Linked DNA regions of Homo sapiens: region 2 is linked to region 1. Evidence: promoter capture Hi-C in 16 types of primary human blood cells and fetal thymus (Javierre and others, 2016). All regions are on one chromosome and are shown on one strand. Each heading gives the region's core, a stretch centred on a gene start or on the middle of the fragment in contact. The rest is flanking DNA. Distances are from core to core; before and after follow the strand shown. Region 1 holds the start of LRRC15 (leucine rich repeat containing 15). Region 2 holds the start of LOC105374282 (a long non-coding RNA gene).

Region 1 (3,805 bases), core at 470-2,969:
ACAGCAGCCACGGGCTACAAACAGCCCCCTTCTCAGGCGGGCACCTGGGATCCCAAAGTAGAGAGAAATGGATCAGCCCCTGATCAAAGCATCTGGAAGCAGGTTCTAATTTCTGTGTCCAAAAGCCAAGACAGGCCATAAATCTGAAGCAGCAGTGACTCCTTCGTGGTCAGGATTCAGGGCAGCAAATTGCCATGTGTGATCACAGTCTGCTTACTGGCAGGACTGAGTCGGGACAGCTCCTCCCCCACCCCTTATTCTCCACGGCTGGATCTATTCTACCTCGCCTCACCACCCCGCCATTTACTGAGCGAGCTAAGGGAGTGTTCCCTAGCCCTGGGAAGAACCTTCCATGACCTGACTGTCTGTCGAATCTATCCAGAACTTACCCTGGCCCCGAACCCTCTCACATGCCTGCCTCATCACTGCTGAGCCCGCCCAGCTGACTCAAGACCACAGGCAAATTGGGCTGTCTGGCCCTGAATTTACTCCAGATGTTCAGTCTCTGCAGAATGAAGGAAGTGCCAGCCGTTAGAGCACTTCTAAATTAAGGAGCCAGTGGCAGCAACACATCTGAGAGCTGCCCAAGGTAAAGTGACGCATCCCAGATAACCCCAAAGGAGAAGCTGGCACGTGGCAGACAGGCACCTGGCACCTGCGACTGGAGCACACGTGTCATCTCAGAGAGAGTGCAGCTGCACCGAGGTGATGCCCTGGGCCCGGGAGGTGGAATGGCTCTTGCACTTTGGCAGGGGTGGGAGAGTCCTGAAAGCTCTGGTTTTCCACAGTTGGTTTCTTGGCCCCAGGTCCTGCCTCTACGTTTGAGCAGAGACACGGGTCAAGGTGCAGCCGTCACAATTTCAAATCCACATACCACCTCATCACAAATCCATCTCCTGCCCTGACTCCCTGCTCAAAGCCTCCAGGCTCCACAGAGGCCGACGCTTCCAGCAGGAGAGAGGGGAAACTGCCAGCATAGTGTCCCCTAAGCCACACTGTTAGAGCCTGAACAATGCTGAGCCCATGTCCGAATTCCAAATTGGAACTGCAAACCAGGGACCAGCACATCTGCTGAAGTTACACTTGCAGGAGTTATCCATCTATGCAAAGCAGACAGCTCTCTTGCCTGGGAAACCCCCATGAAGGAAGGTCTTGGGCAGAACCAAATGCGGGGCAGACCACTGGGAGCCACCAGGGCAAGTGCCAGGAAAGATGGCACAGGCGCAAATAATCTGAACCTTAAAAAGAGAAGTTCTTCCCCCAGTGGATCTAGATTCCAGAACGGTCAATCCAGTGACAAGGGGGGTGATAATTTAGTCCACTTTCAGCCCAACTTGCTGGTCTCAGACATCTCAGCACCCCAGGTTGACATCATGAGCCGCTCAGGGCAAGGGGCATAAGAGGCTGTTGAGGCATCAGCAGAGGGGCTGGTGGTCCTGGTGTCCAGGCAGTGAGGGAGACAGGCTTGCACCCCTCCAGCACAGGCTGCTTCTGTCCCTGTCCCGAGAGCATCCCCAGGCACATGTCAGCTCTGCCCCTTCTGGGGTCTCCGAGGGGAGCAGGTCCAGCAGAAATGGGAAGGGGCTGGCCGGGCCCTCTAAGCAGAGAGGAGGGATGGGGGTGGCTTGCCTACTTACCAGCAGCTCGGCGCCCGCCCGCCGTGGACAAGAGGGAGCCTGAGAGGAGGACGAGGGACGGCTCAAGGCTGCAGCATGAGTGTGGCTCGCCTAAGCTGTCCCGGTATTTAAACTATCCCGGGCGTGAGTCACTGCAGAGGGCAGTGTTGGCCCTGGGAGGGGGGACTGTGGGCCACAGTGCAGTGCCTGCATGTCCCGGGCTGACACTACAGGGTACACATAGCTGGCATCCCTAAATGTAAGGGGTTTGCTTCAACCGTATTTAAAAACTCAGGACACATTTTCCTCTTTCCTTCTTTCCCCCAGTGTATCTTTTGGATTCCTTCACTGCATTGGCCACCGTGAGAGGGGAGTTTACAACGACCCGGTAAACCCCTCCCTAAGTGACTGTGGACCCCCTGCTGCCCTGCCCTGGCCAAGGAGACAAGGACCCCGAGAAAGGGATGGAGCAGGATTCAGGGGCGTTTCTTTGCTCCTAGAAGTATTGGCAAGTGCTTCTCCCTGTGGTTCTAGAAAACTTATTCATTCTTCTCTTTCTTTCTTTCTTTCTTTCTTATTTTAAACTTTTTATTTGGCTTTAAATTTACAGACAATTAATGTGTTTCATCTGTTGTTAACATTTTGGAAGAAGCATTTACTTTAGATTCCAAGGAAAAATATAATTACGACCACTGTGTCCCCTCTAAAAACAGCATTTCCGATTTCCTTGTGATGCTGGGGTCTTTGCCATTACTGCTGCTCTGAGAGGTGCAGGCACACACATCTCTGGCTTGGGGACGGGCAATCAAGGGGCATATTTGGGCGTGAGGAGCTTCCCTATGCCCCTCACCTCTGCATTACAGCCCACACACTGCTGCCCTCTCTACCCCCGTCCCCAGTGGGGACAAAACTGTTTCTATTTGTGGTATCCCCAAAAAGGCCTGGGGAAGAGGATACAGGAATCATAGTTGGAGGGGCGGGAAGGCTTCCAAACCCCGGCTTCTCCTCCGAGATGGAGCCTCAACAAGGCCTGAGCTGCCCCAGGCTGAAGCCACCCTGCCTTTGCCTGGCTCGGTTTACCCTCTCAGCTAAGTGGGGAGAGTGATATTTACACACAGTGCCTCATGGAGTGCCAAGAGGCTTAATTAATATTTGCGCTGTGTTTTGAGATCTGCGATGAAAGGAAGATATAAAAGTGCGTAGTGTTATTACTGAAATAGTTGCTTGGGTGGCTTGTCATGGTCAAGACCTACAGCCTGAATCACGCCACATTCCTCCTCACTGTGGCACCGTGATTCAGAGCCGGAAACAAAAAGTGTCTTGTCCACTAAATAACAGGAGCCCAGGAGGGGCAGGCACTGCTTGGAGTGGCTCCACACAGCTTGAAGCCCCATCCCTTCCCCCACCAGCCTTGTTCCCACGTGCAGAACACCTTCCCTCTTACGGCCCTGATTCCTCCACGTTCCCAAATCAGGTACTTTAACTTTTCTCTTTTTTTTTTTTTTTTGAGACGGAGTCTCACTCTGTCACCCAGGCTGGAGTGCAATGGCGCGATCTCGGCTCACCGCAGCCTCCGCCTCCTGGGTTCAAGCGATTCTCCTGCCTCAGCCTCCTGAGTAGCTGGGATTACAGGCACGCACCACCAGGCTCAGCTAATTTTTGTATTTTTTGTAGAGATGGGGTTTCACCGTGTTAGCCAGGATGGTCTTGATCTCCTGGTCTCATGATTCTCGTGATCCACCCGCCTCAGCCTCCCAAAGTGCTGGGATTACAGACGTGAGCCACCGCGCCTGGCCACTTTAACTTTCTTTCCATAGAACCTACAAGAATAAGAATATCCCTCTTTTTCCTCTTCCATCCTCCCTAATCCTAGCACCCAAGCGCTCTGTGTCGGGCACTGTGCTGGGAGTGGTGGACAACACAGGGATGAATCGGCTGCATTTAAAGATGGCTATTTGGGAAGCACCTGCTGTGAACCAGAGACCCCTTGGGTACCTCACTGCAGCTCTCCATCATTTCACCTCCACCAGCTTTCTCGGCCTCACCACGTGACATTTGGAGGCAGATAATTCTTCATTGCAGGAGCTGTTCTACGTGTCGCGGGAGGCACCATGGCATCCCTGGCCTCTGCCCTCTAGATGCCAGCAGTACCCCCCGATCCAAAAGTAACAAAATGTCTCTAGACATTG
Region 2 (3,805 bases), core at 767-3,266, 600 kb before region 1:
CACAATACCTGCCTTAAGTGTCTGATCCTAACTTCATTGTGTGATTTTCTTTTTACATTGAAAATGTGCTCATGGGGTTCACCAAGAACCTCGAAAGAGCTGTAACAAGATAGAGTGTGCCCAGAGGACGTGGTGGTGCTTGCACATTTTGTCTTTTTTGGTGTGACCTCAGAAAGTGATGATCCTTTCATTTTCTGGTTGGCAGCAGAGGGAGAGGGGCAAGGGGCCTCCTGCTTCCCTCCAATCAGAGCCAAGGATTGGCAGTAGATGGCCTCTTCTTTCTAGATCCTCTGCTTCTTAGTAGTAGCAGGCTGCCCTAACTGTTTTCATGTTAAAAACTCTGCTCAGGGCAACAAGCATGGTAGAGCCACTGTATACATCAACTCTTTTTTTTTTTTTTTTTTTTTTTTTTTGAGGCGGAGTTTTGCTCTTGTTGCCCAGGCAGGAGTGCAGTGGCATGATCTCGGCTCACTGCAAACTCCACCTCCCGGGTTCAAGCGATTCTCCTGCCTCCGCCTCCTGAGTAGCTGGAATTACAGCCACCCGGCACCACACCTGGCTAATTTTTTTGTATTTTTAGTAGAGACGGGGTTTCGCCATATTGGCCAGGCTGGTCTCAAACTGCCAACCTCAGGTGATCCGCCCGCCTCGGCCTCCCAAAGTGCTAGAATTACAGGCATGAGCCACAGCGCCCGGCCCACATCAACTCTTAACTGTATTGTGAATTGTATTTGTGGATTACATACATATCCTTGAAGGCAAAAAATAAATGGAAGCTCAATCAATTCTTTTGCCATGCTCAAAATGTACAGCTGATATTGTGAAGTGCTAAACCCTGTGGAAATGATAGTTGTCATCAGTTCAATGAACAAAATGCAAGCTTGAAAAACAGGACTTTCAACATGTGTTTACCATCAATTGATATGAACCGAACAGCCATATATCTCTTTTTAGTGGGCTGAAACTGACTCCTGTCACAGGAAGAATGGGAAAAAGTTTGATTTTGCTTGAAAAAAATAACATTATGAAAGCTAAAACTCATGATTTTAGAAAATGTAATATCTTCTATTTAAAACAAATATAGTTTATTACAGCATTATATTGCAATAATGTTGGAGAGATAATTGATTAAAATAAAATGAAAATGTATGGAGTAAGCAAAATTGAATTAATTGCTTCTGAATGTAATGTTGTTTTCTTAAATTGAATGAAATGTTTTGAGTCTTTATTCATGCTTTTTCGTAGCCCTTTCAGACATTTTAACTAATATATATTAGTGAGATAGAGAAACCAATATAAATTAGTGAAATTAATATTTGTTATATCTCAAATGGATATAAAATAGGTATTTTAACTAGGTTAATAGAATTTAAAAATTCTGTAAGAGGTATTTGTTTTGAATTATAGATCCTAGAAAATGGAATTATTTTAATCATCTAATTTGTATGTGTTTAACTTTAAGAATGTCTCAATGCAGGAAAAAAAGAGAGGTTTTTATTGTGGCTCCTAAAATTTAGAACACAGATTATTGTAGAAGTTCTCGCAACTGCCTAAAAGGAGTACATGTTTTGAAAGAATAAACAGAAAGAAAAAGAAAGAACAAGGCAAAAGAGTCAGCCCTTGGTGAGGAGGCTTTGAGGAGCCTTGTGGGTCTGGGTAGGCAGACAGTGCGGGCCGGAGGTGGCGCATTCCCTGTGCGGCCTGACAAAGCGACGCAGAGCCCTGCCCTCCAAACAACAGCACAAATGACAGAAGCCATCAGCTGCGGTCAATTTTCCAATGACAAGGCTTCTTAAAGTAAGGCGGTTCAAAGCGCAGGAACCCAAACACTGGGGCACAGTGAGTGAAGCTCACAGGTCCTGCACCTGCCGCTGGCGTCTGTTACAGCTCATTTCTTTCGTGTGTCAGGTAGAAAGGGCACTCTATATAACTCTGCACTTGCCCAGGAATCTCTCCTCTACAATCGGCAGCCAGTACTTCACGTGTCTGGAGGGAGCGGGAGAGGCAAGCAAGGTTAATGACGTGCCTAAGGTCACGGGAAAAGTAAGTGGAGAAATATGAGCAGCCTCCCAGACCTTGGGCCTGTTTCCCTCCCATTTCTGTGCTGTGACACACAATGCAACGGATGAAGGGACGGTTCTCCTTTTATCATCCTTTCCAACAAGTGGAAAAATTGCTTTGCTGAGACAGTGACCAATTTCTTTCTAAAGCGTTCAGTACACAAGACCTCCTGAAAGTACCTATGTAAATGGAACCCACGTCTTCCTTTTCTGTTCTTCTTCTTATCGTGGTGTTGGTTGTTCCTAATATAAGTATTATTTTAGGCTTTCTCTTACCACAGCCCTTTAAGCCACAAAGACCCTCTAGGCTTCTGATGTTGAGGTCATGGAGGCCACTCCTTCCCCAAATTCCGATCTGCGAAGGCATCAGAGGAGAACGGCTGTGAGAAGCAGTGGGCGGGAACCCATCCTTGGCTAGGTTTACAGTGCTGTTGAAGGGGCTGATGGCGGCTACTGTTTGTTTTTACCGTCTCTCGCTCTCTCTCTCTGATAATTCCCTCCAAGTTGGACACTTAAAATAAGGTCCTCGTAAACTCCTTCAGCTTGAGAGTTTCCAGGAAAGGGAATGTTAATTTTGTTGACAAATTTCAGTATCCCAAAGCCCCAGGTCTTAATTCATTGTCAAACTCTCGGTCCTGAGCCTGCATACTCCCCTTGTGCTCCTAATTAGTCTTGTCATGAGCTCCTATGCTGTTGTCTTAAACACAGCCCTGTGTCCTGGGAGCCAAAGGGCGCTTTGGGGTGCGTAGTGCTGTATTTGTGTATATTTAAAAAAAATAGTCATCGCTCGTCTTGCTGTGGCCGCCATCATTTTTCCGTGGAGGTGTTGCCATAGAGATGTTGTCTGATCCATCTCTATTGATATCACCCTTTAAAGGGGCCCCTGAATAGGCACTGAGGTAGGTAAATGTATGCAGTGACATTGAGCGGATGATTCTATTCTGAAAAATTCCTGCACCATTTGTTTCTGTGCTTGTCTGAGGGCCGGGACACGGTGTTGGGTTTTGTTGCACGTGCTCTCTTCACAGGCCCGGAGTTAATGCAAGCCTTGTTTGAAACCACTGAAGCAGAAATTTCTCTGCTGCCAAGGACAAAAGCTTCACAGGCCACCTCGGAGGCTGCTTTGGGAAGGCCGTGTCTCCGGGGCTCCCAAAGGAAATGGGAGATAACCGGGAGCAGGGAGGAGCACCTCAAATTCCCCCAGCCCTCCTAGACTGTCTGGACACATCTGGCCCCCTCTCTTCTGGGGAAGTGCTGGCCTCTCCAATCAGAGGTTTTGATATAATTTGCCCTTTTCCAGCCTGTTGAGAGAAATTGTCTGAAAGATAGGCGTGCTTTTCTGTCCGTGGTATTAAGTGTGTATTTGTACATCTTCTCTGCATCTTTTCTGTCTCACATCATGGGGGAGAAGCTCTCTTATAAACAACAGTCACAGTTACACTGATTCACACCTTTACGTTTAAACCAAATGATACCACGTTCTCTTCCTACTCTGAGAAAAAGAAAGGGAGGAAGAAAAGACACAAGGGGGGAAGGATTTATTGAATGCCCTGTGTCCTGAAATAGTGTCGGGGACTTGGTAAGTCATAATAAACCAATTTTGTTGAAAAAATGAACAAGGGACTATTTAAAGCCAAGCATTGTGCTAGGAGTTTCCAAAAGTATTTTCTGTACTCTTCTCAGCTCTGTGATAAAGGAGTTGTTAGCCCCTTTTTACAAAAAGATTGAGTGACTTACCCAAGACC

Evidence for each region. The method cuts DNA at HindIII sites, captures the fragments that hold promoters and counts their contacts. A CHiCAGO score of 5 or more calls a contact.
Region 2: a contact is called between a fragment that was not itself captured here and the fragment with the promoter of LRRC15 in region 1, in 6 of 17 cell types (M0 macrophages, M2 macrophages, naive B cells and 3 more). The highest score is 9.4, in M0 macrophages.

Annotation. Positions count from the first base shown.
Region 1 is chr3:194,368,024-194,371,828 of GRCh38, forward strand. LRRC15 (leucine rich repeat containing 15) reads right to left here and starts at 1,720. Exons shown (of 2, transcript NM_130830.5): 1 at 1,638-1,720. RefSeq lists an enhancer at 1,179-2,143. The HindIII fragment of the contact is 9,301 bases long and covers 1-3,805 here.
Region 2 is chr3:193,769,480-193,773,284 of GRCh38, forward strand. It overlaps LOC105374282 (a long non-coding RNA gene), which reads right to left and starts at 2,906. Exons shown (of 2, transcript XR_924838.4): 1 at 2,337-2,906; 2 at 1,473-1,986. RefSeq lists an enhancer at 2,091-3,805. The HindIII fragment of the contact is 2,277 bases long and covers 879-3,155 here.